6 separate regions of the Homo sapiens genome follow, and all the other regions are linked to region 2. The links are contacts of gene promoters, found by promoter capture Hi-C in human tissues and cell types (Jung and others, 2019). All regions are on one chromosome and are shown on one strand. Each heading gives the region's core, a stretch centred on a gene start or on the middle of the fragment in contact. The rest is flanking DNA. Distances are from core to core; before and after follow the strand shown. Region 1 overlaps CPEB3 (cytoplasmic polyadenylation element binding protein 3). Region 2 holds the start of IDE (insulin degrading enzyme). Region 3 overlaps CPEB3 (cytoplasmic polyadenylation element binding protein 3). Region 4 overlaps EXOC6 (exocyst complex component 6). Region 5 overlaps EXOC6 (exocyst complex component 6). Region 6 holds the start of LOC107984254 (a long non-coding RNA gene).

Evidence for each region. Contacts are between HindIII fragments. The study calls those that stand out against the background at their distance.
Region 1: a contact is called between a fragment that was not itself captured here and the fragment with the promoter of IDE in region 2, in 2 of the 25 tissues and cell types used here (mesenchymal stem cells and spleen).
Region 3: a fragment that was not itself captured here is called in contact with the fragment with the promoter of IDE in region 2 in 2 of the 25 tissues and cell types used here (bladder and spleen).
Region 4: a contact is called between a fragment that was not itself captured here and the fragment with the promoter of IDE in region 2, in 1 of the 25 tissues and cell types used here (mesenchymal stem cells).
Region 5: a contact is called between a fragment that was not itself captured here and the fragment with the promoter of IDE in region 2, in 1 of the 25 tissues and cell types used here (mesenchymal stem cells).
Region 6: a fragment that was not itself captured here is called in contact with the fragment with the promoter of IDE in region 2 in 1 of the 25 tissues and cell types used here (mesendoderm cells).

What each region holds. Positions count from the first base shown.
Region 1 is chr10:92,150,521-92,155,400 of GRCh38, forward strand. All of the region lies in intron 4 of CPEB3 (cytoplasmic polyadenylation element binding protein 3), which reads right to left. Among named protein-coding and RNA genes, the nearest start is that of CPEB3, 140 kb to the right of the region's middle. The HindIII fragment of the contact is 3,217 bases long and covers 1,029-4,245 here.
Region 2 is chr10:92,571,566-92,576,463 of GRCh38, forward strand. It overlaps IDE (insulin degrading enzyme), which reads right to left and starts at 2,528. Exons shown (of 25, transcript NM_004969.4): 1 at 2,357-2,528. The coding sequence starts at 2,454. RefSeq lists a silencer at 1,928-2,377 and enhancers at 2,878-2,937, 2,948-3,187. The HindIII fragment of the contact is 24,485 bases long and covers 515-4,898 here.
Region 3 is chr10:92,254,981-92,259,470 of GRCh38, forward strand. All of the region lies in intron 1 of CPEB3 (cytoplasmic polyadenylation element binding protein 3), which reads right to left. Among named protein-coding and RNA genes, the nearest start is that of CPEB3, 34 kb to the right of the region's middle. The HindIII fragment of the contact is 3,631 bases long and covers 50-3,680 here.
Region 4 is chr10:92,928,456-92,933,422 of GRCh38, forward strand. All of the region lies in intron 9 of EXOC6 (exocyst complex component 6), which reads left to right. Among named protein-coding and RNA genes, the nearest start is that of EXOC6, 82 kb to the left of the region's middle. The HindIII fragment of the contact is 4,610 bases long and covers 239-4,848 here.
Region 5 is chr10:93,004,389-93,009,114 of GRCh38, forward strand. All of the region lies in intron 19 of EXOC6 (exocyst complex component 6), which reads left to right. Among named protein-coding and RNA genes, the nearest start is that of CYP26C1, 54 kb to the right of the region's middle. The HindIII fragment of the contact is 4,871 bases long and covers 764-4,726 here.
Region 6 is chr10:92,110,939-92,115,898 of GRCh38, forward strand. CPEB3 (cytoplasmic polyadenylation element binding protein 3) reads right to left here. Exons shown (of 10, transcript NM_014912.5): 7 at 138-256. LOC107984254 (a long non-coding RNA gene) reads left to right here and starts at 1,445. Exons shown (of 2, transcript XR_001747551.3): 1 at 1,445-3,941; 2 at 4,067-4,590. The HindIII fragment of the contact is 3,715 bases long and covers 555-4,269 here.

The DNA.
Region 1 (4,880 bases), core at 1,387-3,886, 420 kb before region 2:
CTCCATGAGAAAACAGTGGTATTCTGATTTGTCCAGTAATCCCTTGTGAGGATGGTATTCATGCATTCATTTGATTGGCATAAATCCATCTCCAAAACAAATCATCCCTGAGAAGTCAGTAAAATTTTATTTCCTGGACATGTGTTACTAGAAACTGAAAATTTAAGAGGCTGCACCTAAATTGTGCCCCAGGAGAAGTCTTGCTTCACTAACTAGCATCTCTCTAACATATTTCTTTTTTTTAAGGGAAATATTTCCAAGACCAAAATGTGTTAAGCAAGCCACATTACTTATCAAAAAATATATTTCTATGTGAGGAGGATATAAACCTGCTTTAGAACACCATGATACTGCCACATAAAATATGTATATTCAATATTTCAATAAAAGCAGGAGAAAGGTTTCTCAAATGCTGCAAGTTGGCCATTTGGCTTTCAACCAATGGTCTGGTTCTCTGATATCTATTTCAATTACTATCTATAATTAGTTTTTGGTCCAGTAATTGGACAAATCATCTCTGAATGTGGAGATGGCTTAAAACCAAACAAGCTTGCAGGAAAAGTGCCAAATAGAAGACTTGCAAAGCATTAGTTAAGCATGGAAGGCTTGTCCAAGATAATTCCTCCCCAGAAGGCTCCCTTTCCTTCAGCAAATGATGGAAAAACAAAAGCCCATTGGCCAAGCTATGCTGTGAAAGCTGCTGGGACCTCACCTCTGAGCTCCCACCAAGGCCTCTGCCATCACTCCAGCAGCTCCAGGGTACCTCTGGCCCAGCACTTCTACTCCAAGCCTGACTCTTTTCATTTTAGTCTTGTAAGTAGCTCAGCAATCAGTCACTTTGGGGGTTTAAGAAAAAGGAATTATGAGGCATGACTCCCTCATAAAATACATACATATTCCCTAGAAGTCAAGATAGGTTCCAGCCTAGTGTCCAGTAGGTGACTTTGAACAAAAAACATTTCACTTATGGTCTCATTTGCATAATGAGAGAGTTTAACTAGATGGCAGGATTTCAGATCCCCAGGAACAGGAGAATCCCTTTTATTACACAGAAATCTTACCTAAAAATAGATTTACTTCATATTAATATCTGGTATTTCTTAGGCATCACAAACTTAATGTGTTTACAAGTGAACTTTTGATATCTACCTTAAACTTATTCTCTCCCAGTCCCATTTCAATATGTGGCATTACAATTCACCCAATCACTTCAGCCAGAATCTCAAAATCATTTTTGAGTCTTCCTTCTTATTTACCCTCCAAGGTTAATTCAGCAACCTGACACCATCTGTTAAACACTACTGTTGATCCCATTCTCCAAGATCTATCTTTAATTTGTTCACTTCTCTCCAACTCCACTGCCATCACCCTATCCTAACTATCCTCATCTCATGCCTGACATCACCTCCTAACAAGGCAACCCAATTCTCTTTTCACTTCACTCCAAACAGCAACCAGACGTGCTCTTTTAAAAACATAAATCCAATCATTTGACCTTGCTTTAAAGCTTCAAAGATTTCCTCTTGTACTTGGACCAAGTTCAAAATCCTTACCAGGAGCTAATGTCCAGCAAGATCAGATTCTCTTTCCTTCCTCCAAACTCATCTTAAGACATACTCCTCCATCACCTACCAAGCATCAGTCATTCTAGGCTTCCTCAAAGTAAGCCTTTTCTTGCCTCAAGCCTTTTTTTAAAGAAACACGACTTTTTTGAAATATAATTCTCATATCACACAATTGATCCATTTAATCCATTAGCAGTCACTCTTGGTTTTCCCCCAACCTCTCAGCCCTAGGCGACCACTAATCTCCGTTTTGTCTCAATAGATTTGTCTATTCTGGACACTTCATATAAATGGTATCATACAAATACGTGACTCTTGAGATTGGCTTCTTTCACTTAGTGTAATGTTTTCGAGGTTTATGTTGTAGCATGTATCTGTACTTTGCTTCAAGCCTTTTACAAATGCAGTTCCTTCCACCTTCCCCTTTTAAACTAGCTATCTGTCTTATAATATCTGAAATTCCCTTTAAAATATTCCCAGGGAAAAAGGGAAGAGAATATATGAAACAAAACTGGCAAAAATGCTGATAATAATTGAAGCTGATGATGGATATATTGGTGTTCATTAAACTAGTCTACATTTGTATATATTTAAAAATTCCTTAATACCAAAAAGTTTTAGATAGCTATCTCTCCATCCTTTCAGTTTGTTTAAATATCACCTCTTCAGAGGTGACCTCCCCTATTCTTTTCTGCCTAGTATTTATCACAACTGTTAAGAATAAATATATTCGTTTCACTTATTTATTGTCTCTCTCCCTACAAGAGTGACCACTGAACAGTGTCAGAGACCACATCTGGAGTCTAGTACAGTATAGGTATGCAGACACTTAATGAGTAAAATTTGGGTGGAAGGCCCAGAAAATCCCTCCTTCAGTCTTTCTTTTGGCCCCTCCCAGATTAAATTCCCAAGACAGTGAAAAACTAGTCATCTTCCCCTCACTATCATCTGTGCTCAAATTTTCCTATTACTATGAGCAGTAACATTTTCAGATATTACAACCATGAACATTCAGAAAATTCTCCGATTCACGTCCATGTTTTATTCTAGAATCATCCATACCTTTAAACAAGCAAGCTCATACAACTGGGTTTGAATTAGCAGGATGGCGTGCTTCTAGCATGGTCTCCCTGGAATAGCTGATCTCTCTTCCCTCGAGCAGGCTTTTGACAGAAATACTCAACTTTAACTCAGCACACGAGTTTGTTTGATTGGATTTTAGAACTTTTGTTATCAATTATGCAACCCATTAATATCAATATATTTTTTATGAACTAAATATATGCAGGAGTACATTTATAACAGTAACTCTAATCATTCTTTGTATTTTTTCATTTGCATTGTTAAAAGGACCTTTTATATTCTCCTTACTGCTCTATAACTAGGAAATTCTGTTAAACATCAAAAATACTAGCATGGGCTGGGTGCAGTGGCTCATGCCTATAATCCCAGCACTTTGGGAGGCCGAGGCGATCCCCTGGGGTCAGGAGTTCGAGACCAGCCTGGCCAACATGGAGAAACCCCATCTCTACTAAAAATACAAAAACTAGCCGGGCATGGTGGTGCGTGCCTGTAATCCCAGCTACTTGGGGGGCTGAGGCAGGCGAATTGCTTGAACTTGGGAGGCGGAGGCTGCAGTGAGCCAAGATTGCACCACTGCACTCAAGCCTGGGCGATGGAGTGAGACTCCATCTCAAAAAGCAAAAAACAAAAACAAAAATATTGGCATAGCCAACATGTCTACTTATGGACAAGAGTTTCACAGAGACCATAAAAACTCATACTCATGTAAATGAAAAGCACAATATATATTAAATGTGTAGGCAAAAATCCAAAATGACACTACCTGGTAGACTAGTTGTATTTTCTCATTTGCATTGTTAAAAGGACTTTTCATATTCTCCTTACTGCTCTATAACTAAGAAATTCTGCTAAACATCAAAAATACTGGCATAGCCAACATGTCTACTTATGGACAATAGTTTCATGGAGAGCATAAAAACTCATTCTCATGTGAAATGAAAAGCACAGCATATATTAAATGTGTAGGCAAAAGTCTTAAATGACACTACCTGGTAGACTAGTTTCTAACAGGGGTTGCAGTTGTATAGGAGGACACATATTAAAGCTTATCAAAGGCAGAACACTCCCAAAGAAAAATGGTAAGATTCTTTGGTGTGATTCTTATTCCACAAATGAAATCAAGGTTTGTCTACTGGAACAAATTCAAAATAGATATAAATGGGAAATATAATTGGGTATTTTTAAACTATATGTAATTGATATTTATTTTCAATCTTATTCTTTCATGTCATTCTTCTCATTTCTCATTATTACTGCTTCAACTACATTACTAGAAGCACTTGGTTTGCTAAGAGTCTACCTTCAATGTCCTCATCCAAGCCTTGAGCTGATGTTCAAGTTATCCCCTGCTTTCATTACTTTATCATAAAACCCTCTTTCTAAAGCCTGACAATATCTGTGTCCAGGAGTTTCACCGCCTGTTTCAAAAACATTCATTAAGGCAGCATAGATCGTCCTACTACCAGCTTCTCCTCTCCAGCTGGTCCCACAGCATACACTCAGAGATATGTACTCCAAGCCTCTGGTCATGGCAATCTCATCTTTAAGCCTTCTTCTAAGGAGAAACACATACTAGAATGTCTTGCTTCCCATTCCTATTCCATTATCCAAATAGGTCCTGAAATTCTACTCATCCCAGGAAACTTTTCAACACTTATCAGGAGAGGTGTAAAAGTCCACTGGCCAAATTCTTGCTGACAGAACTAAAAACTTTCACATATATTACATTCCCTTTATTTCTGTTCCTAGAAAATTTACCAACATGGCCAGATGTGGTGGCTCATGCCTGTAATCCCAGCACGTTGGGAGATGGGCAGATGGCTTGAGGCCAGGAGTTCAGGACCAGCCTAGCCAATATGGTGAAACCCCATGTCTACTAAAAATACAAAAATTAGCCGGGTATGGCGGTGCATGCTTGTAGTCCCAGCTATTTGGGAGGCTGAGGCAGGAGAATCACTTGAACCCGTGAGGCGGAGGTTGCAGTGAGCCAAGATTATGCCACTGTACTCCAGCCTGGGCGACAAAGTGAGACTCTGTCTCAAAAAAAGAAAAAAGTTTACCAACATGTTTATGTAACACATAGAAAATAAGTTATAACTCCAGTTCTATCCTTAATCATAGGTAGAGGGAAGTAACATACATCAGCAAGCTTAATTTTTATTCTTTTTGGGCAAGTCTAAATGTTAATTAGAGGAAAGGGATCAAACATTAATTTAATCCCTGTTCACATGA
Region 2 (4,898 bases), core at 1,278-3,777:
TTATCTCCAGGTGCCCCAGTAGTTCAGATAATTCCACACAGTCCCAAGTTATAAAATACAGCTGAACACAGAACAAGGAGGTTACTCTGTAAATGGATTGATCTTACATAAATGCTTTAAGACCATCTCTGTCTCAAGAGGTTAGACCAGAAAATGAATGCCCAAATACCAGCAGAGGCAGTACTTGTGTTTGCAAATACATAACAGTTAAGAGCTCAGGCTCCGATGCCAGATAGACATGGGTTAAATCCCAGCTCTTCCAGCAAATAGCTGTGTGGCTATCTCTGTTAAGACATTCTTCCGACTATGTACAGTAGGGCTGATTGCATTCCTTAAGATGAGAATATGTGGTAGCTTCAGATGTTAGTGCTTTCCTTCCTAAAACTATGCCCTAATCCCTTTGGTTGGACCTGTATTTTCCTCAAAAGCCTCACTCACTGATTTTAGGGTAGAGCTTTCTAGCTGGCTCATCTCATTCATTATGCTTTGAATCTCTCAAATTTCCATCTTTGAGAAAAACATATCTTAAAACTCTGGATGGTCGACCGGACTTTATAACTACAGAGAAAATGTAATTTTAACTAGAACATACAAACCACTTAGTTATACAAAACTTAAAATTGGTGCTTTCTTTAAAAATCACAAATGCTATATGCTGGAGACAGTATGGAGACAGCTAAGCCTAGCCTATCAGTAATGAATTTAGAACAAAAGCAGACTGACACAAAAGAGGACAAAAGGAGGCATCCTGCCTGTGCTTACCACCTGATTCTCTAAGTTCAGGGGTCTTTTGCACATTATAGGAGATTTTGTGATGTAGTGGAAAACAGAGGAGAACAAGTTCCATAGAGTCTTCATTTGTATTAGCTTATCTTAGTGCCCCACTGCTACCATCCTAATACAGGCAGTAAAGACTAAGTCCCAACAGGTTTCTCTGCCTTAGGACTCTCTCCACTTCCTGACATCCTGCACACAGCCACCAAACTACTTTCCTAAACCCCCAGTTCCATCAGATAACTTTCCAGCTCAAAAACTTTAATGGCTCCCTACCTACTACGCATTGGGAAAATCCCAACTAAAATTCAAGACCCAGGCCAGCATTACCCTACTGTTATAATACAGGACTTGTGTCCTTCTAATTACCCCAAGGAAATTCTATAAAGCTTCAACCAGACTAATCGGCTCACTGCTCCCCCAACACAAACTGCCCGCATATCTAGGCTGGATTACGCCCACGCCAGCCCTCACTCCAACCTTTCTGCCATTCCTTCCAAAGCCAGCCTACCCCCCCATCTCTGGCCCCACACACTACCCATACTACCCATCTTCTGACCCTCATCAACACACCCTTGTAGCTATCTCAATTCCCGTGGCATCCCAATCCGCTCCAATCAAGTCAAAGTTCCTTGGAAGGCAGACACATACTTTACATAGAGGGTCCAGCACAGTGCCCTGCACTTAGTAGGTGCTGGCTATTACTGATTAAAACCAGCAGGGGTTCAAATAACGTTTCTAGGGAGGGCAAGATAATACTGCCTATCTTCTTCCATTCGTAGTAAAAAGTATTCAGCGTTCACTACAAGCCTGAAAACGCCTAGCGTACGCAGATCAACGGTGCAGTGGAGAGGGCACGCCGCCGGATGGCAAAAAACCTGTGTCCTAATCCTGGTTTTGCCACAATCTCGGCAGTTGCTGGGAAATCAAGCCATCTCTCGGAGCTCCGGTTGTCTCCGACGTAAAACAAGGGAGCTGCTGTAGAGGATCCCGAGGTATCTTTTGGCTCCTAAATGTCCCCCGATAGGAAACCCCACACTCGTCTTCCAAGGCGGGAGGCAGGCAAACTTTTTTCCCAGCGCGGGCATTCCACACGGTCCTGGAAACTCAGTGCCCGGAGAAAAGGGCAGGGCTGAGGGCAAGGTGAGAAGCGGTCCCCCCGAAGTCGCCGGATTCCTTTACCCCACGGCTCGAGTCCGCCTCAGGTTCCCGGCCCCCTCACAGGCGGACTCCGGGAGAGTGACGCGGCGCGGCTCCCAGGTGCAGGCCGGGTGACTCTGTCCGCCCCTGCGCCCCCCGCACTAGTGGCACACGCCCCGTGGCCCCGGGTAGCGGCCCCGGCCCCTCACCAGCCCAAGGGACGTCCCCGACTCTGGACCAGGCCTCTGGCTCCCGCCTGGCGAGCCGCTCTTCCGGGCCCTGGGGCGGCCTCAGCGCGGCAGTACGGGCCCCAGGCCGGCGGGACGGGCGGCGTGAGGGGCAGCGGTGGCGGCTTTAAGTGCTGAATCACCACTTTGCAACCCGAGCGCCAAACCGCTGTGACCCACGGGGCCCGAGGGCCCGGGCGCTCCATTCCGCTTACCCACACAGGCGCTCCGGAGGCGGCAGGCGGGCGCCGAGGACTGAGCGGAAGGTGCTGGGCAGTGCGGGGTGCAGAAGCCACGCTAGCCGGTACCGCATTAGCCAGCGCAGTCGCCGGGATCACCGCAAACGCTTCCTGCTTGCGCTTCGAGCCGGCCCTGCGCACTGCGCATGCTCTAGCCGCGGCGCCGCGCGGTCTCCCGGGAGCTGCGGAGAGGTAGCTGCTCCGGGTTTTGCCTGGAGCCGGATGGGGCCAGGACGCAGGCGAGGACGGTGAAGACCGCGGACAGCCGAGGCCTGAGCAGGCGGACTGGAGGGACAGGGGTTTGGCCGGGGCGCTTTAGGAGCCAGCACCCAGACTTTCCCAGGCGGGGAGGGTCCCAGCTAGATCCCACCGGCCGCACTTGTGAGGGTGGCGACGTGTGTCTGACTGTGAGGGGGCGAGGGGCCGCTCATAAATCCAGTGAGGGCACACGGGGCTATGTTTTCTGAGGCACCCCCACTGACTAGCGTGCCGGACCCTGCAGGTGTTGGAACAAGGTTCGTGGTCGCGGCGGCCTCACGTAAAATGAATCCGCGGCCGGCGCGCGGCCCGCGGGCTCCCTCTAGAGCGCGGTGGGGACGTGGACCGCGAAGGCACAGATGCGCTGGAGACAAGGCTCGAGTGCGGCGTGGGGGAAATTCAGACGCAGGGGTCAGCGATAGAGAGGCCAGGACCCAGGGGGACGTTTCCATCCTTGGGGAAGTTAGCAGCTCTCTTAAGAGGAAGGTGCGGATGGGACGGGCGCCGCAGCAAAACAAGGCTTCAAATCCAGAGTAGAAACTACTACTCTTGTTAGTACTCCGTACTAGGAATACTACTAATGTCAGTCGGCTTCAGTGGTTACTTTTTAAACAAAGAATTTTCTCCCCAGTGGCTTTATGGGGCTTTGCACCCACGAACAACTTAATAGTTGTTATGAATCTAACTTTCCATAATACCTTATGGGAGTCTTTAAGGAAGAATGCTATTAGGGATGGTGACTTGCCAGCTTAAGTACTTTTAGGTTTCTGATTGACAGACGATCAAGACTGCAGCCAAAAACGGTGTCCTTAGTCCAAGTATTGCTTTAAATGGGAATTCAGTAGGAGGGTTCCTTAATCAAGTTGATGCTTTATCGAAGACGTACCCACGATCTTTTTAACAGTGCGGTTTCACCTAAAGGCAAACCTTTGGATGAAAACAGGTAAAAATTATGGCAAGCCTCCTAGTGGTGTTTGCAAGTGCATGGTTTTAAGAACCTTTAAATTACCAGTCCCAATGCAGAGTAGTCAATCACCTTGAAGCAGCTCCTCTGAGAGTGTTAATGCAGCCTTTCTGAATACATTTATGCTCCATTAATGGAATCTATAAATGGGCTGGGGTAGATTCAGACTTGGAGGGCTTGAAACATATACAATTTGGGGGACCTCTTTGAGACATAAAATACAAATTATAAATACAAAATTAGCAATCAGAAGATTACTATAGAGAGAAAATACATCACAACAAATACTCGAGACTTGGAGATTAGTACCCTTTTTTTTCCTGAGATCTCTTTAGGCTACTTATTAGAAATGCTTACATAAAAATGCTTCCAGATGGCCGGGCGTGGTGGCTCATGCCTGTAATCCCAGCACTTTGGGAGGCCAAGCCGGGCGGATAACGAGATCAGGAGTTCGAGACCAGCCTGACCAAAATGGTGAAACCCCGTGTCTACTAAAAATACAAAAATTAGCCAGGCGTGGTGGCATGCGTCTGTAATCCCAGCTACTGAGGAGGCTGAGGCAGGAGAATCACTTGAACCCTGGAGGCGGAGGTTGCAGTGAGCCAAGATCACGCCACTGCACTCCAGCCTGGGCAACAAAATGAGACTCTATGTCTCAAAAAAAAAAAAAATGCTTCCAGACAACAACTGGCTTTCCCTCTACAACTCCCAGTTTGGAGCCTGTGCAAGTGAGCAGCCCTGAAGTTTAAACTTCATTAGCTTCATGATAAATTTCCCTCTGGTTGGAGTAGATGTCCTGGATAAGAAAGATTAATATTAATATAGTCTCATAACTATCATCTCAATAAAGAGGAGGTGGATGGAAAGAAAAGTAACAATTTTGAGAGTCTACTCTGTGTCTGGCATTGTACATGGCTCCTTCATTAGTCATCATGACCACCCTCTGTAATGGATATTTCCTCACCTACCAGAGATGAGGAAGCTGTGGCAGAGAGAGGTTGAGTAACTTGCCAACAATTGGACAAAAAGAGTGGAGTTGTAATTTGAACCCAGGACTGTCTTATTCCAAAACCTGTGATTTGCTCATCTCATTTATGACTTGACAAATATTTGTTGAATGCCTTACAGATACCAGGTATTATAAAGGTGCTGGGAATACAGCAGTGGACAAAAAAGACAAAAGTTTCTGTCTTGATGGAGATTACCTTCTAGCTGTGTGGGAAAAACAGATAATAATCAAGTGAGTAAGTGATATGAAGGAACAGGTGGTCAGGAAAGGCCTCTTTGAGGAAGTGA
Region 3 (4,490 bases), core at 615-3,114, 320 kb before region 2:
TACAGGCATGAGCTGCTGCACCCAGTTCTCTTGTCTGTAACTCCTAAGAGAATACTGAGGCTATTAGGTAGTAATGTCTCCAATTTCCCTACTGCCCACCAACAAGCCCTCCCTTACAAACTTACCTGTATTCCCTTTCATATTCCCTTTCCTCCTTTCTCAGAGGAAGCTGAGTCTCCCTACAAGACCACAATTAATCCCTCCTTCTGTGGTCTAGAACCCATTCCTTCTAGTTTCCTTGAGACCTAGCTCATTAATTTAATTATTCTCAGCTCTCTCATTCCCATTCCTGGCAGGCTATTTGAAAGAAACTCTAGATCTTAGTTAACTTCCTTACTTCCAGTTAACTCCCCAACTTACTGCAGTCTGGCTTCTGCCCCTACCATTCTACAAAAATTGCTCTTGGTACTGACATTACCAAAGTCACCAATGACCAACTAACACTTTTCAAGTCCTATTTTCTTTGTGCATTCTTCATAAAACACTTCTGATAAGAATTTAAGATGCCTTCCCAAGATTCCAGGCTAGAAGCTAAAAAAGAACCCACATCCTATAACTGCAATTCTTCCAACAAGAAGGCACTTGAAGATGGATTTCTCCCAAGAGCTTCTAGATGAGAACTCCGCAGGGCCACCATCTTGATTTCAGTCTATTAACACCCTGAACAAAGAACCTAACCGTGGTGCACCACACTTCTGACCTATGGAACTGTTAGTTAATAAATGTTGTTTTAAGCCATTAAGCTTGTGATGATTTGTTACACAACAGTAGCAAACTAATACAACACTATTCCATTTTCATTTAAGATACTGCTCTCCTGTATCTTTACTTATCTCTTAATGTTTCTTCTCAATCTTCTGCCCCTAAATACAGTCTCCCCCAGGGTTCTCCTAATTCTGCATACTCTCCCTAATCAATGTTATATTCATAAAGTTCACCACTGTTTAGGTCTCCGGATGAAATGTTTTTAAGCTACAGACTGCTTTTAACTATTTCTCTATCAGAAGATCCTATTAGCACCTCTTCTCCCATAAATTTGCTTGTGCATTTATATTTGGTTAACTTATCCTATTTAATGGCACCACCATCAGTGTAGTCACACAAGTTAGGAACCTGGACATGATTCTTCCCCTTTTCCCTGAGAGACAAGTCCAACTGGTTGATAAAACTTATTAATCCTGCCTCCTAAATTTCTGACTGACATCCTATCGTCTCCATTCACAACCAGTATAATACTGTACCTGAACTACAGCAGTGATCTCCTAATGTCTCTCATCTAGTATTCTTCCAAATGTGGCCTCCATACTAAATCCTGAGTAATCATTCGAACATAGTTTTACCATGTTATGCCCCTTCCTAAAACTCTCCAATAACTTTTCCCTTGCCATGAGGATAAAATACAAACCTTTTTTCTTTTTTTTTTTTTTTGAAACAGAGTCTCACTCTGTTGCCCAGCTAGAGTGCGGTGGCGCATCTTGGCTCACTGCAACCTCCGCCTCCTGGGTTCAAGCAATTCTCCTGCCTCAGCCTCCTGAGTAGCTGGGACTACAGGCACGTGCCACCACACCCAGCTAATTTTTGTATTTTTAGTAGATGGGGTTTCACCATGTTGGCCAGGATGGTCTCGATCTCTTGACCTCGTGATCCGCCCGCCTCAGCCTCTCAAAGTACTGGGATTACAGGCATGAGCCACTGTGCCCAGCCCAAACTTAACTCTTCTACACGTACTCTTCCCAGCCATGCCAACCTAACTCAAATGTCCATTATTTGAAGCTTTCCTTGACCATGTAAGCAGAATTGCTGATTCCTTCCTTTATACAACTTTGTAAGACACATATATCTCTATTACAGTATTTATTCTTCATATTTCAGTGTAATTATTTGTTTACACATCTGCCTTTCCTAGAAGACCTCCAGGTTTGGGACTATATTCATCTTTGTAACCCAGGTACTGGGCCTAAAACATAGAGATACTGGATAAAAGTTTGTTTATCAAATCAAAGAACAGATACCTTTTATCCCAATTTGTTGAAATGTAAAGCACTTCTTTAACATTAGACAAAGAGAAGTTCTATGGATTCTATTGCCATAGAATGTGTTCCAAAACCCTATGCTTAATAATACAAAGTTTAATGTTTATGAAGACATTCCATATTGAAATTCAGTATAATTTACCTTTCTCCTGTTGGAGGATATTTGATTTGTTTCCAAGTTTTCACTATTTTCCAAACTGACTGTTTCCTTGAGCCTTATTTCTAAAGAAGAAATTGCTCAATTGGAAGGCATAACATTGATTTTGATACATATTAACAAATTATTTATTTTATTTTTTTTTTAAGGCAGGGCCTCTGTCTCCCAGGTTGGAGTGCAGTGGTACCATCAGAGCTCACTGCAGCCTCAACCTCGCAGGCTCAAGTGATCCTCCTGCCTCAGTCCCCCAAGTAGCTGGGATTACAGGCTTGGGCCACCACACCCAGCTAATTTTTTGTATTTTTAGTATAGATAGAGTTTTGCCATGTTGCCCAGGCTGGTTTCAAACTCCTGGGCTCAGGCAATCCTCCTGCCTTGGCCTCCCAAGTGCTAGGATTACAGGGGTGAACCACCTTGCCAACAAATTGCTTTAGAAAGCTTGCAGCAGTGTATACTTCCACTAGAAATTAGCTTCTACATAAAAACAATGTATAAATAGTATAAAAAAACAGAATCCGGTTCCTGATAATGTAATAATGTAGAAAAGGACCTCAACTCTTTTTTTTTTTTTTTTTTGAGATGGAGTTTCACTCTTGTCACCCAGGATGGAGTGCAGTGGCACAATCTCAGCTCACTGCAACCTCTGCCTCCTAGGTTCAAGCGATTCTCCTGCCTCAGCCCCCTGAGTAGCTGGGATCACAGGCGCCCACCACCATGCCCAGCTAATTTTTGTATTTTTGATAGAGATGGGGTTTCGCCATGTTGGCCAGGCTGGTCTCACACTCCTGACCTCAGATGATTCGCCAACCTCAGCCTACCAAAGTGCTGGGATTACAAGCGTGAGTTATCGTGCCCGGCCTCTCAACTCTTTCAATATGCCAAATAATATTAAGTCCCTTTTAACATCCTAATATATGTATTTTTTTCTTTCCTTTTTTTTTTTCTGAAACCAAGTCTCGCTCTGTCACCCAGGCTGGAGTGCAATGGTGTACCATCTCGGCTCACTGCAACCTCCACCTCCCGGGTTCATGCAATTATCCTGCCTCAGCCTCCTGAGTAGCTGGGATTAAAGGCACCCGCCACCACACCTGGCTAATTTTTGTATTTTTAGTAGAGACAGGATTTTGACATGTTGGCCAGGCTGGTCTTGAACTCCTGACCTCAGGTGATCCACCCTCCTCAGCCTCCCAAAGTGCTGAGATTATAGGCGTGAGCCACCGTGCCTGGCCAACATCCTAATATATTTAATACTTTGTCATTCTTCTTCATCATACCATCATATGATAATGAAATAGTGCAGATAAATTAAATACTTATAGCTGATGTTTATTAGCTGGAGATTCCTTTTCAGATTATGACACAAGTATACATGTGTGCATATTCCATAGGAATAGGAGAAAAAGATGAGTAGCCTTCATCTATGTTCAGTTTCCAGACTTCAATTATATTTTTTGAATATATATATATATATATATATATATATATATATATATATATATATATATATATTTCATGTATTTGTGTTCATCTTAGGTCAAAAAATGTTCACTAGATCAGATATTTTTATATAAATTTTTTCTTTTTTAAACAGAGTCTCTTGACTCAGCTTCCTGAGTAGCTGGAACTACAGGCACCCACCACCACGCTGAGTAATTTTTTTGTATTTTTAGTAGAGATGGGGTTTTCACCATATTAGCCAGGATGGTCTCCATCTCTTGACCTCATGATTCGCCTGCCTCAGCCTCCCAAAGTGCTGGGATTACAGGCACGAGCCACCACGCCTGGCCCTTTCTTTCTTTCTTTTTTTTCTTTGAGACAGTCTCACTCCGTTGCCCAGGCTGGAATGCAGTGGTGCAATCTCAGCTCACTGCAATCTCCACCTCCCGGGTTCAAGCAATTCTCCTGCCTCAGACTCCTGAGTAGCAGGGATTACAGGTACACGCCATCATGCCTGGCTAATTTTTGTATTTTTAGTAGAGATGGGGTTTCACCATGTTGGCCAGGCTGGTCTCAAACTCCTGACCTCAGGTGATCCACCCACCTCAGCCTCCCAAAGTACTGGGATTACAGGTATGAGCCGCCACACCCAGCCATTCTGTCCTTTCTTTAGAGCCCTGCTCAAACCCTACCTCCTAACAATATCATCTATGGCCGGGTGCGATGGCTCATGCCTGTAATCCCAGCACTTTGGGAAGCCGAGGTGGGCAGATCACCTGAGGTCAGGAGTTCGAGATAAGCCTGACCAACATGGAGAAATCCCGTCTCTACTAAAAATACAAAATTAGCCGGGCGTGGTGGCA
Region 4 (4,967 bases), core at 1,294-3,793, 360 kb after region 2:
TCACTTTTTATCCCCTTACCCTGTTTTAATTTCTTCAAAGCATGTATCACTGTTCATTCAACTACAAATATTTATTGAACACCTACCATTTCCAAACATTGGTTTAGGTGCTAAGGGTACAGCAGTGAACCAAATAGATAAGTCCCTTTTCTCATGAGCTTACATTCTATTAGGAAAGATAGACAGCGAATTTAAAAAAAAAAAAAAGGACCAACAAGAAATATATAAAATATCAGGGAATGATAGTTTCTGACAACATAGTGGATTATGTATCTTGATTAATTGTCCCACTGAAAATACAACTGAAGATGCTAGATAGACATTTAAAACAAACAAACAAAAAGACAAGAAACTAAGTGAATAAGGAACTGTTCTATATATTGGTTGTGGTGATAGTTACATTAGTAGATGTGTTTGTAAAACTCATAGAAGCTGAATATTGAAGAGTTTTATTGTATGTGACTAATACCTCAATATATCTGACTATAAAACAATCAAAACAGGAAAACCCAAATGAAGGCAGAAATGCAGATAGGTTTAATGAAACACTGAATATAGCTTTTATCCTAGGAGAATCTGCTGAGTAGGAAAGCATGAGTTTTGACGACATTGGGTACAGAGGGCTAAGCCCAGAGCCCACCCAAAGTAGGTGTCTAATAAGAGATTGTCTCCCTTGTAAGCTGAGACTCCAAAGGATTTAAAGCCCCATTATTAGGATGAGCTAGAGATAAAACCATCTAAAAATCCTTCTGTTCCCTCTGGCGAATACTGTAAGGAAAATTACCTATCTCAAATCTTGCTGAGTGAACGAGAGAAAAAATCCTTCTGAGAATTCATAATAAGCAGTTTGTTACCACTTGTGTTTGCAACCCAAATTCATCATACATGGATAGTCAAAGACATCTCAAGCTCAACATTTCAAGTATTTCCATCCTGATACTATCTCCAAGTGCCTGGCAGAAGCAAATACAGATCTCTGCACCTTCATTCCAGAGTTAAACTGAGCAATTCACAGTCAGAAATAATTACCAAACGAGTGAGAATCGTAAGAAATATTAACAACAAAAATAGATTCTAAAAGACTCGATATTTGAATTATTAGCCATAGAGTATATAATAGTGCTACTTAGTATATTTAAAGAAATAAAAGCCAAGCTTGCTAATATAAATAGGGAACAGAAACTATAAAGAATGACCAAATAGATGTGAAGAAATATCAGGTAGAATATCTAGAAATTAAATACATATTAACTGAAGTTAAAAATATTATGAATAGGTTTAACAGTTGATGAATTCTCTCTTAGTTAATCTGAAGAAACTATGTGGAAGTAAGCATCACAAAGACACAGAAGGAAAAATTACTGAAGTGAGACATGAGGGATACAGAGAAGTCTAACATATATCTAATTGGAGTTTCAGAAAGAGGATAGAGCAAATGAGACTGAAGAATATTTGATGCCATATGGCTGAGAATTTTCTGGGACAGATGAGAAATAGAAATCCACAGAGTCAAGTCCAAGGAATCCCAGGTACCTTAAATAAAAAGAAATACACTCTTAGAAACTTTATAATTAAATTGCAGAACACCAAAGATAAAGAGGAATGGAAGACCTGAAAACTATTATCAGCTGTCTTGATCTGATTGACATTTATTGAATACTCCACCCCGGATGGAAGAATACACACGCTTTACATGTGCACATGGAAGATTCACCAATATCATATTCTGGGCCATGAAACAAACATCAACAAATATAAAAAGCTGGGCTGGGTGCAGTGGCTCACGCCTGTAATCCCAGCGCTTTGGGAGGCTGAGGCAGGCGGATCACCTAAGGTCAGGAGTTTGAGACCAGCCTGGCCAACATGGTGAAACCCCATCTCTACTAAAAATACAAAAATTAGCCAGGCATAGTGGCGCGTGCCTGTAATCCCAGCTGCTCGGGAGGCTGAGGCAGGAGAATCACTTGAACCCGAGAGGCAGAGGTTGCAGTGAGCCGACATCGCACCATTGCACTCCAGCCTGGGTGACAAGAGTGAGACTCTGTCTCAAATAATAATAATAATAATAATAAATAGAAAAAGCTTGAAATCATACAAAGTCTATCCTCTGACTGCAAGAGAATTAAATGATCCATATGCAAAAAATGAATATTGACTCACTTCTTTCAACAATTAAAGGGGATCATCGACCTAAATGTAAGAGTTAAAATTGTAAACTTTTAGGAAAAAACAAAGGATAAAATCTTTATTACTCTATAATGTATTTATAGTATTTTCCTATGTGAGTTACATAAAGCATGAGCCATAAAAGAAAAAAAATAGATGATTTGAACATCAAAATCTAAAACTTCTGCTTTTCAAAAGGTGTTGTTAAGAAAATGAAAAAGCTGGCTCATGCCTGTAATCCCAGCACTTTGGGAGGCCAAGGCGGGCGGATCATGAGGTCAAGAGATCGAGAGCATCCTAGCAAACATGGTGAAACCCCGTCTCTACTAAAAATACAAAAATTAGCTGGGAGTGGTGGCGTGTGCCTGTAGTCCCAGCTACTAGGGAGGCTGAGGCAGGAGAATCGCTTGAACCTGGGAGGTGGAGGTTGCAGTGAACTGAGATCGTACCATTGCACTCCAGCCTGGCGACAGAGCAAGACTCCATCTCAGAAGAAAAAAAAAAAAAAAAAAAAAAAAGGAAAGGAAAAGGCAAGATATGGACTTGGAGAAAATATTTGCAGAACTCATGTCTAAAAAGGGGCTTTATCCAGAATATGTAAAGAACTTGTATAACTCAGTAATTGAAGACCAATAAACCAATTTAAAAATGGACAAAAGATTTTTTTTTTTAGTGTAGTACTGAGTTTACTAGAATAAACAGAAAATAGAACAGAATAGATGATTGAGAAACAAATTTAAGTGTATATAAGAACAACTGTCAGGCTATTTTTTTTAGTTGACATATAATAATTGTACATATCTATGGGACATAGAGTGATATTTTGATACATATATATATAATGTGTAATGATCAAATCAGAGTAATTAGCATATTCATTGTGAAAAACTATACTGAACATCTTCTCACATGTTTATTTGCCATCAGTTTATCTCTGGTAAAATGTCTATTCAAATCTTTTGTCCATTCCACGCTCTAGGAACAAAGCTGGATGGAGAATGGACAAAAGATTTGAATAGACATTTTACCAAAGATAAACTGATGGCAAATAAGCATATGAGAAGATGCTCAGTATAATTTTTTCGTCAGGGAAATGCAAATTAAAACCACAATAAGATACCACTGCATACTTACTAGAATGACTAAAATTGAAAGGATTGATAATAGCAAGTGCTGGTGAGGATGTGAATCAAGTGGAACTCTCATACACTTCTGATAGATATAAAATTATACTGCCACTTTGGAAAATGGTTTGGCAATTTGTTACAATGTTGAGCAAACTCTTCTATGACCTAGCAGTCCTGCTCCTAGGTATTTATCCATGAGAAATGAAAATGTATCTTTATACAGTGGCTCATATGTGAATGTTTGTAGTAGCTTTATTATAAACACCAAAAACTAGAGACATCTGAATGTCTGTGAACTAGTGAATAAATTGTGGTACATCCATATGTATAAACAAATTATTGTATGTTTTATATAATGGAACTACTCGGCACTAAAAGGGAATTGATACATGCAGTGATATGGATGAATCTCAAAAGTATTATTCTAAGTGAAAAAAATTCATATGCAGTAAAGTTATATATAATATGAGTAATGTTATATGACATTTTTGAAAAGACAAAACTCTAGGACAGAATGGGATCAGTGGTGGCCAAGGGCTATGGGTTCGGCAGGATAATTCTCTACAAAAGAGCAGGAGGAAACTTTCTGAGATGGAAATGTTGTATTTTTTTATTTATCTGGTGGTTACACAACTGTCTACATTTGTCAAAACTCAGTGAACTCTACATGTAAAAAAGGGTTAATTTTATTATATGTAAATTGTACCTCAATAAACTTAACTTTAGAAACAAACATAAACAGAAAATCTTAAAGGTACCCAGAAAGAGGTTATTTTCAAGTAAACAAAACAATAAAATATTTTCAATTCTGAAAAAAGTAACTGTCAACTTAGGATTCTATATCCAGTGAAACAAGGGCAGAGATAGACATTTTCAGACAAAGAAGAGCAGAGTTGGCCACTAAGACACGCTTACTAAGGAGATCCTAAGGATATGCTTCAAACAAAAGGAATGTGATGCCAAAGGGAAGATGTGAGATGCAAGAAGGAATGAATAGCAAAAAAAGTATAAATATTTAGGTAAATCTAAAATGACTGTAGGAAATAATGTAAAATATTGTGGACATTAAAACAACATAGAATTTTAATTTGTGCAGCAGCAATAAGAAAAAATAAGATAGAATTAAAATACACAACAGTAACATAAACATCAGAATGAGATGGAAGTTAGTGAAATTAAACTATCCTACAGTTTGAAGCGTCCAGCAGAAGAGTAAAAACATTGACTAGCTTTAGAGTTTGGTTACTTAAGGATGTGTAATGTGATTTCCAGAGTAACTACTGAAGGAATAGAAACAGGGTATATATACTTTTATATAATACAGGGAAAGCTAGAATGATAAGAATAAAATTTTTGTTATTTGTGTGCTTTTGAGTTGATAAAAATGGTAATTCTAAACCTATAAGCACTTGATAACATTGACTCAAAGTATTTAAAGCAAAACTGCCACAACTACAAGGAGAAATAGAAAAATCCACAAGTATAGTGAGTTTTAAAATATGTGTCAGTATCTTCTAAACCAAGTAGACATAACATCAGTAAGAATACAAAACATGCTTAATAGGCTTCATCTAATGGAATATATAGAATCCTATTTCAACAACTGTAGGAACATATTCTTTTCAAGCACACATGGACCATTATTAAAAATTTGACTACATACTATGCTATAAA
Region 5 (4,726 bases), core at 1,949-4,448, 430 kb after region 2:
TTCTAGAGTTCTACCTTTGTTGTCAGAAAGTTAAGACCCAGCTGATACTGCTGTATTTCAACTCAAGACCATTTAACTCCTTGATCTAAACAAAACTAATCATTATTTCTTTCATAAAAATTCTTCACATATTTGATGACTGAAGAATGACCTTTTAACTTTATCTTTCTGAGCTAAGTAGTTATTTTTTAAAATGTTTCCTTGTAGGGTATTTTCACATGCCTTTTTGTAAATTTTCTTTGGATCTTTTCCTGTTTTTCTACTTTTTTAACCTATACTTGGTCAAAGTGGATACAATGTCTAAGTTCAGGAATATAGAATTATATGAACTTATATAGAACTTTTCTTTTTTAAATTGCTTTCAGATCAGTCTTAAGATGGTCTGAGTACATGTCAGGAAGTTGAGACCTTGCTTCCAGTCCTGGCTTTGCCTCTAACTTGAGCAAGTTGACTTGGACAAACCCTTCAACCATCAAGAGGCCTAAATTTTTCCCATAACACATGGAATTTGGAATTGATAAATGTTTCAAGATAACGTCCTGGTTCTAAGATTCAAAGGCAGTTAAATGTTAAGACATTGAAGAGTGTGGGGCTTTGAAGTCATATATTAATTATGTCTTCATATCTATTATGTGCATGGCATTGAGGGAATACAGTGGTAAGCAAAACAGAAAAGGTCTTTACCCTCTTGGAGTTTAAGTCCAGTGGGGAAACAGTAATTAATAACTTCATTAATAAATATGACTATAAATTGTTAAACTTTGTAAAAGTATATGGTATGAGAATACTAGGTAGGATCTATGTATGAATATAGAGGTTAACTTTTGGTTAATTTGACCATAACCATCATGCTAGTATAACTGCATGTTTGGAGACAGTCAGGAAGATAACCAGGAATACATACTTGGAAATTGCAAAAATAGCTCCCTCTGAAAGCTACATTGAACCTTTGATCTTAGTATAAATTTTATACAAGTTCAAGATAAATGTCTTCTTATTTGGAGGAGCATTTGCCAAGGTATGAGAATGATGTTCTGAATCAGTGTATGTACTTTGTTTTATATTTATTAAATACTTATTATATATTGGGTACCAATATAGATACCTTATAGATATAACCATATAGAAGAAAAGATTAATATGTCTTCTAAACAAGTTCTTACAAAGGTGTCACAGAAATTCTTCCTGTTACTAAGAAAATACAGACTATTTCCCAAGCATCAGGCAATCAGAAAGACCTATTCTATATTTGAAGTATCCAGAGTAGGTCTAGAATACATTTTTAAATTCATTCTGCCCAAATGTCTAAGTTAGGTTATTAGCTCCTAAGGGTTTAACATCTGAAATCTGTAGGTATTAGAAAAGGCATTAGAATAGCTCCAGATTAAAGAGTGCTGGCACCTATTTCAATGGTGAGTTATTGGAGAGTAGATAAGTTTCTTAATGTGAAAGCCTTGGTCTTTCTTAATTTTTGGATAAAAACTTAACCTGCTGGGCACAATGGCTCATGCCTGTAATCCCAGCACTTTGGGAGGCCACGACTGGAGAATCGCTTGAGCCCAGGGGTTCGAGACCAGCCTGGGCAAAATAGGGAGATTTCATCTCTGCAAAAAAAATTAAAATTACTCAGATGTGGTGGTGCACATGTGTAGTCCCAGCCACTCAGGAGGCTGAGGTGGGAGAATTGCTTGAGCCTGGAAGGTCAAGGCTGCAGTGAGCCGTGATCATGCCACTGTACTCCCGCCTGGGTGACAGAGTGAGACCCTGTCTCAAAAACAAAACAAAACAAGAAAGCTTAGCCAAAAAAGAAAAAAAAAAAGGATGCTGTTTATAGAGTTTTAGCGACTATGACCTCTAATTCTAGCCTTGAAAAAGGGCTGTGCCCCATAATAAAAGTATTAAGGCAAAATCATCTGGATGGTAAGAGAAGAATATTTCAGTGCCTTTTTAAAAAGTAAGCTGGATGCTGTTACACTGTTTGGATACCTGAATTTGTTCCTGGTTTGGATACCTGAATTTGATACCTAACCTATCTGATGGAGGATACTTTGCCCAGGTTTAATTCCAAGAAATGGAGAAAACTAGATACTACTTTATATAAAAATGAGGTGATGAAGGTAGAGTAACAGTTGGTCCTCGAGGTTTGCATCCCACTGTTGCTGACCGCATACAGCAGAAAATACATCTAAAAGCCAAGAATCCTAACTCTCCTGATTCCCAGGCATAAGTTCTTCACCACCAGAAAAACCACTAGATGGTGCTCTTAGTCATTCCTTCTAACGACACAGCTGGTTCACATGGGATACTTTGTTTGTCTAATAACAAAGTTTGTTAAACAAAACTTGAGTTCTTACTAGCTACTTTAATATTCAGATCTAGATAGAAATGAAATTACAAGAAGTATCTTCAAATAGAATGAATATTGGCATTCATATTCAGCCATTTATTTAGTTACAGAATTATTCCATTTTATATGCACCTGTGTGGTCATTTGCAAGCAAGATCTTAAAACTTTAGCTTAGCCTCCTCCCCTTTCTTTCAGTCTTTTGTCAAGCTTCTGATGTATTCCCTCTTATGACTCCATGGGCCCTTTTTCTCCCCCACCCTCTTTACCCCCTGACAATTCTTCCTACCCTGTATGGATGTTTTCTATATCTACATTGTAAACAATCTACATTCTCTGCCTTATGATAAAGATAACTGTCTGCCTAGAACAAGATTTTTCAAGGACTTCTGAGTTTAATTCCCTCTGAGTTTAATTTCAGAGTAGGTTTTATATTTTCCAGTCAAGATAAATACTTATGGCCTGACATCTTGGCAATTTTCCTTCCCCCCTCGTAACAAACCCTTTACATTTTGCATAGATCCTGAGGGGAAGGGCCTGTTTTCCTACTCAAAAATTTTTTTTTTTTTATATATACAAATAACTCATGTTTTGCCTACAGGTATTCTTTGTTCTCTTAAAACTTCATAGATTGCCGGCTGGGCGCAATGGCTCACATCTGTAATCCCAGCACTTTGGGAGGCCGAGGTGGGTGGATCACCTGAGGTCAGGCGTTCAAGACCAGCCTGGCCAACATGATGAAACCCCGTCTCTATTAAAAATACAAAAAAATTAGCTGGGTGTGGTGGCACATGCCTATAATCCCAGCTACTCTGGAGGCCGAGGCAGGAGAATTGCTTGAACCCGGGAGATGGAGGTTGCAGTGAGCCGAGATCACACCACTGCACTCCAGGCTGGACAGCAGAGCGAGACTCCGTCTCCAAAAACAAAACAAAAACCCAACTTCATCGATTGCCAATTTGGAAGATAGTTTTGTTATAATCACAGCTTACCCCGCATACATTATTTTTTGTTCCCACTTTCATCTAAATTGATTCAAACTAGTCTTCTTCCAAGTTAGGCTGATATAGCAGAGTTTTACTCTATTGTTATAATATACCTTCCCAATAAGATCAGACACCTCCTTCTCTAATCTAAGAATATTTGAAAACTTGGAATCAGGCCGGGTGCGGTGGCTCACGCCTGTAATTCAGCACTTTGGGAGGCCAAGGTGGGCGGATCACCTGAGGTCAGGAGTTTGAGACTAGCCTGGGCAGCATGGTGAAACCCCTTCTCTTCTAAAAATACAAAATTAGCAGGGCCTGGTGGTGCATGCCTGTAATCAAAGCTACTCAGGAGGCTGAGGCAGGAGAATCTCGCTTGAACCTGGGAGGTAGGGGTTGCATTGAGCCAAAATTGTGCCATTGCACTCCAGCCTGGGCAACAGAGTGAGACTCCATCTCAAAAAAAGAAAAGAAAAGAAAATTTGAAATCATTTATTATTGCAGAAAATAAGAGGAAATGAATATCCTGAAGTTATTTTGTTTATTAAAAAGGAAATAGTCAAATTGGAGGCATTAAGAGAAAAAAACAAAGATTTGGAATCTCTTAAAAAAGAACACTTCATAGTCTGGAAATGATTTTTACATATCTTATTGGGAAACCAGGATCAATGTGTGTTATTTAAAAATACCCTTAAAGGCATGGCTAAATGACAAAAACAAAGACACCATAATAGGGGGGGAAGTGGGCATTATTGTTTTTAAAATTTTAAAGATGGTCCAAGGGAGGAGAATTAGGAATCCCCAAAATATGACAAATTATATACAAAATGAGAATCTGAATGAGCCAAAAAGTAATTTGACGATAGTACTTCTAGAGATTTCAAAAATTAGTCATCAATTCTTTAAAAATTTAAAAGATTAAAATTGACCCCATGAATTATTGGGACCATAGACAATATTAGTAGAAATGATTTGTATTACTATTTATTCATTCAACACACATTTATTGACTGTTTCCTAGGTGACAGGTATGGTGTATGTAACTACTTCCCAGGAGCTTCTTGTTTAGTGGAAGAGCTCATGATTTAGTTTTAATTGAAGAAACTATTAGGAGTATTTTCACCCACCCTAAATTACTTTTATATAAATACACTAAGTGTATACAGTTATGTTCTTGATTTGCACTGTTAAATAAATACATATGGCTAGGAAATTTAAATTAAGCTGGATGCAGTGCCTCATACCTGTAATCTCAGCACTTCGAGAGGCCAGGGCAGGACGACTGCTTGAGGCCAGGAGTTTGAGACTGGCCTAGGCAACATAGTCCCCCTGTCTCTACAGAAAATAAAAAAAATAACCAGACATGATGGCACCTGTAGTCCCAGCTACTCAGGAGGCT
Region 6 (4,960 bases), core at 1,162-3,661, 460 kb before region 2:
CAACTCTACTGCATAGCAAGGCCAAGCTGGGTAAGAGGATCCTAGTTACCAGCATTTCCATTATCAGAAAGAGGAGGTCAGCTATTCCAATAGCATATGTGCTCTGGAAAAGCAACAGCTGGCCATGTATTACTTACTGGCTTGTCCTTGATGGTGGGGCTTGACACACACAGGTAGAGTTTCCCATCTTCTTCTAGGCAGGCATCTATCAAAGCTTGTACTGAGCTTTCCTCTTGGAACAGCAGAAAGGCATAGCCTTGGGGAGAGCAAAAACAAAAGGGTAGAGGAAGAATCAGTACATTAAACTCAAAGTACCAATTACAAATTATCTGTTGTTTCATTTTGGCAAATTCTTACTAAAATCTAAGAAGTTCAAGTGGGACAAAGGGACTTTGTCCAGGAACTAAGTTAGGTGCTCATTGATATTACCTTGTTTAATTTTTACAATTACTCACAGAAGCAAGTTTAGAACACATCTATGGAATTTCCACTAAATACATCTGGTTATCCTTAATGAGGGCAAGTGGACTCACCATTGGCCTTAGCCACAACTAACAAGTAGCCAGGAAACAAGCACCACCTGCTTTCCAATTTCTACAAAGCTCTAGGCTGGCCACATGCCACAGGGATAAACCTTGAAAATATTATGCTAAGTGAAAGAAGCCAGACAAAATATGTCCAGAACCAGCAAATCTATCAAGACAAAAAATAGATTAGTGGCTGCCTAGGATGGGGAAGCTGGAGGGAATAGGCACTGAGTTTCTTTTTGGGATGATAAATTTTCTAAAATTGATTGTGCTGATGATTGCACAACTCTGTAAACATGCTGAAAACCACTGACATGCACATGTCACATTGGTGAGTTGTATGGTATGTGAATGATATTTTAACAAAGCTTTGTTGACACACAAACACACACACACAAAAAGCTTCAAAAAAGTTTTTAAAAAGGCCAACAATAAGCTGGTGTGCTTTTGCCTGCTATTTCTGATGATGGTGCTCTGCTTCTCTAAGAGATACCCTCTTGGCAGAGTACAGTAGGTCTAGAAAAATGGACATTAGCTGCAGGATTTCCATAGACACAGCCAGTTTTTTTCAGTTTAATTCCATAAGATTTACCGAGTAACTGATACAAGTGGGACATATCCATGGTTTATGAGAATACTAAAATAAGCAAGACCACGTTCCTTTTTTTTTTTTTTTTTTTTTTTGAGATGCAGTCTTGCTCTGTCACCCAATCTCAGTGCAGTGGCACAATCTCTGTGGTATGATCTCGGCTCACTGCAACTTCTGCCTCCCGGGTTCAAGCAGTTCGTGTGCCTCAGCCTCCCAAGTAGCTGGGATTACAGGCGCCCGCCACCACATCCGTCTAATTTTTGTATTTTTAGTAGAGACAGGGTTTCACCATGTTGGCCAGGCTGGTCTCACACTCCTGACTTCAAGTGATCCATCTGCCTCGGCCTCCCAAAGTGCTGGGATTACAGGTGTGAGCCACCACGCCCGGCCCCAGGTTCCTCTTGTAAAGAAACTTATGAAGTAGATGAAACAAACATTTAGACAATTAACTACTCACTACAAAGCTGAGGGAGATAAGTGGGGACAAAATGTGTCACTGAAATCACAAGGAGCAAAGGCCCAACTTGGGAGAATCAGCAAAGACTTTAAAGAGAGCAACAGATATTCAAGGGGCCACCTGTGGCACTTGTGGCCACACTGGCATTCATAAATGATGACAGAGCAAAGGCCCGTCATGAACTAGTCTAAGCTTTCAACTTCTCTACAACCCTGCTAGCTTTGCTAAATCTCTCAGCTGTCATTCCTCAACTCCCAACTCTGCTACTAACCTCAAAGGAAACCATCATCAACACAGTTCTTCTCTGGTACATTGCATATCAGAAGAATGTAAATGGCAGAGAAGGATAAGAATCCCCACATACAGAAGATTCTCACACATCAGAGGTGTTTAATTCATAATCAACTGGCTAAGAAGCAAAGCTCTCTGGAGTCCTGGGCAACATGTAATGACAGTGGCAATGGATAATGGCTATTCGTTTTTAGCCTTTTCTCCAACTCCCCATCTACTATACAGAGCATCCAGGCAAATATAGCAGAAAAAAAGACCAGCCACTCCCTAGCATAGCAGGCAGAAACTAACACACAGGAAAAGGCACCAAATTGAATGGGCAGCCATGTAGTTGCAAGAGAGAGACTGCCAAGGTTTTAGGACCAAGAGCTGTTTTCTGGGCTTTGGTCTCATGCTGCATAGGTCAGAAGATTCTGTTGATGGCTAGTCAGGAAAAATAAAACCTGACTGCAAAACTAGAAAAGACAATACATACATCATTTCTTCATATCCTCTTTTGCAAACAGTATTGAACTATCACCAGGTGCCAGGGAATCTTAAAAATTCAGTGTTTTCACTTAATATGAGAACATTAATTCTACTTACTAAAGATAATATTAGAGATAAGGTGGGTTAAAAAGTCCAAATATCACAAAGAGGAGGTCTCAGCAGGTTCTTTCAAACCTCCTCTCTTACCAAGTTAAATACTGGTACAGATATCCACAAAGATCATAAGCATATTGAACACCCTGCAGTCAGAGTACTCCATCTATGTATATATTGTATTATGTACACATCAAAAAGGCCTGGTGATAGGGAATGCCCAGTGAGTTGGGGCTTTCTCTTATTCCTTGCCTCAAGAAGGCCTCCTGGCTGACTCCATTTTTCCTTCACATCACTGCCCACCCTCTGCAATCTTCAACATCAAATCCAGTTTTGCATTGACCTTGGGCATCCAAAGAAAAGGCGGTTGTCTCCCTATAGCAGCTGAGCAGCTCCCACAAAAGCACGCAGATTTTCACTTAGGCCCATCTCACAGCCATAAAATATCTACACTGGCAGTAGATAGAGTAAAAACAACTGGGAGTCACAAGTAAAAGCCTGCTACAAATACTATTATCAAGAGAAATATCTATAAACAATTTCTCCTTTCCCAGGAAATGGTCCATAACAGTTTACCAATTTCTTTAGGATGGCTCTTTTACTATAAATAATCCTGTGTCAAAACAATTATCTTTACTCTGAGGTCACCAAGCTGCCATTTTCTGTAATGGCAATATTCTCTCAGCACTGTAGATAAGAGACATGGCTAAACTCCCCCCAACCCCCCAAAATCTGGGCTGTAGTTCAACAATTTCTTCTAACTCTACTTCCCACTTTAGGCCTTCCAACCAAAACAGAATTCACCGGAAACACCCAAAATCACTCTTGAAAACAACTTTATGATATCTTCACCTGCTAAAACACCTTCTGATACTTCAAGGTCAAGCAAACCCAGATGACAACAGAAATCAGAGGATTTTTTAAAATCAGGAAGAATCTTTCGAACATATTTCCCTTTTGATCTTGAAAAATTTAAAGTCAAAGTAAACAAAGTAGAAAAAGATCCCTTCAAGAATAACAAGGTCAATGTGAGGCGGAAATCCAATCAATGATTTACTAAAAGGTAAATTGCACATGGTACTAGGAAGTGTTCTGGACTAGGAGACAGAAGGTCTAGATTCGGGTACAAGTCCTAACATTTAGTAGCTATGTGATAATAACAGCTAATAGCTAACATTTGTTGAGATTTACTATGCACCAGACACTGTTCTAAGTGCCTTGTGGACATTAACTCATTTCATCTTCACACACACCCTATGTGGTAAGCCCTATTTTGAATTCTGCTTTATATTTAAGGAAATTACACAGAGTGATTAAGCGACTTGTTCAAGATCACCCAGTAAGTGGTGGAACCATGAACTTGAATATTAACATTTCTGAATCCTGGCTCTCTTCTCTGTCAAATGAAGAAACCAAATATTTGTCCCAATTACCTTACAGAGATGTAGGTTGTAAGATAACGTATAAAAAGGTGTTTCATAAACTAGGAAGTCATGTGAGTATTGATTTTTCTTTTACTGCATTTTCAATTATTTCTGTAATAGATAAAATTAAAGTTGAGTTTTTGCATATGGTCTCATTACAAACATTAGAATTCAAATTAATAATATGCACTTTCAGCCGGCAGAGCCGCCTGGCAGCTCCTCCTCTTCTCCGCCCCGGCGGCCGCGGGCGCGGGGGACGTCAGCGCTGCCAGTGTGGAAAGAGCTGCGGGGCGCGGGAGGAGGAAGTAGAGCCCGGGACCGCCGGGCCACCACCGACCGCCTCAGCCATGGACGCGTCCCTGGAGAAGGGAGTCTCGGTCTCTTGCCCAGGCGGGAGTGCAGTGAGGCGATCTCGGATCCCTGCAACCTCCGCCTCCCGGATTCAAGTGATTCTCCTGCCTCAGCCTCCCGAGCAGCTGTGACTACAGGCGTGTGACACCACACCCGACTAATTTTTGTATTCCCAGTAGAGATGGGGTTTCACCACGTTGGTCAGGATGGTCTCAAACACCTGACCTTGTGATCCTTCAGCCTCAGCCTCCCACAGTGCTGGGATTACAGGCGTAAGCCACTGCACCTGGCCGGGACTTAGATTTATATTCCCTGAAGTAATACAGGGCCTTAGATGGAATGAACGATTTATATTGGTGCTAATTGGGCGGAAAAGAAAAAGCATTGCTGTAATATGAATGTTGATGACTTTATGTTCTGAAAAATAGTCTGGGTCAAAGTGAAACATTTAATTGTGTTCATTATTCCTGTTTCTTTGAGGAATAGACTATCCTGCGTTAAATTCTACATTGTTAATATAAACTCAAGAGCTATGTGAGCAGTTGTAAATGATCCCATTTAAACTGATTGTTGCGTAATTTATACTGATTACAGAAACCACAATGTTATTTGATGCTCACCCTCTAAAATTTAAAATAATATCTCTCACTTTAAAATGTATGTGAAAAAACAAAAAAAAATTTAGTATGCGATCATCATTTAGTAGAATCACTCAGTGATTTGGATTTGGTCCAAATAT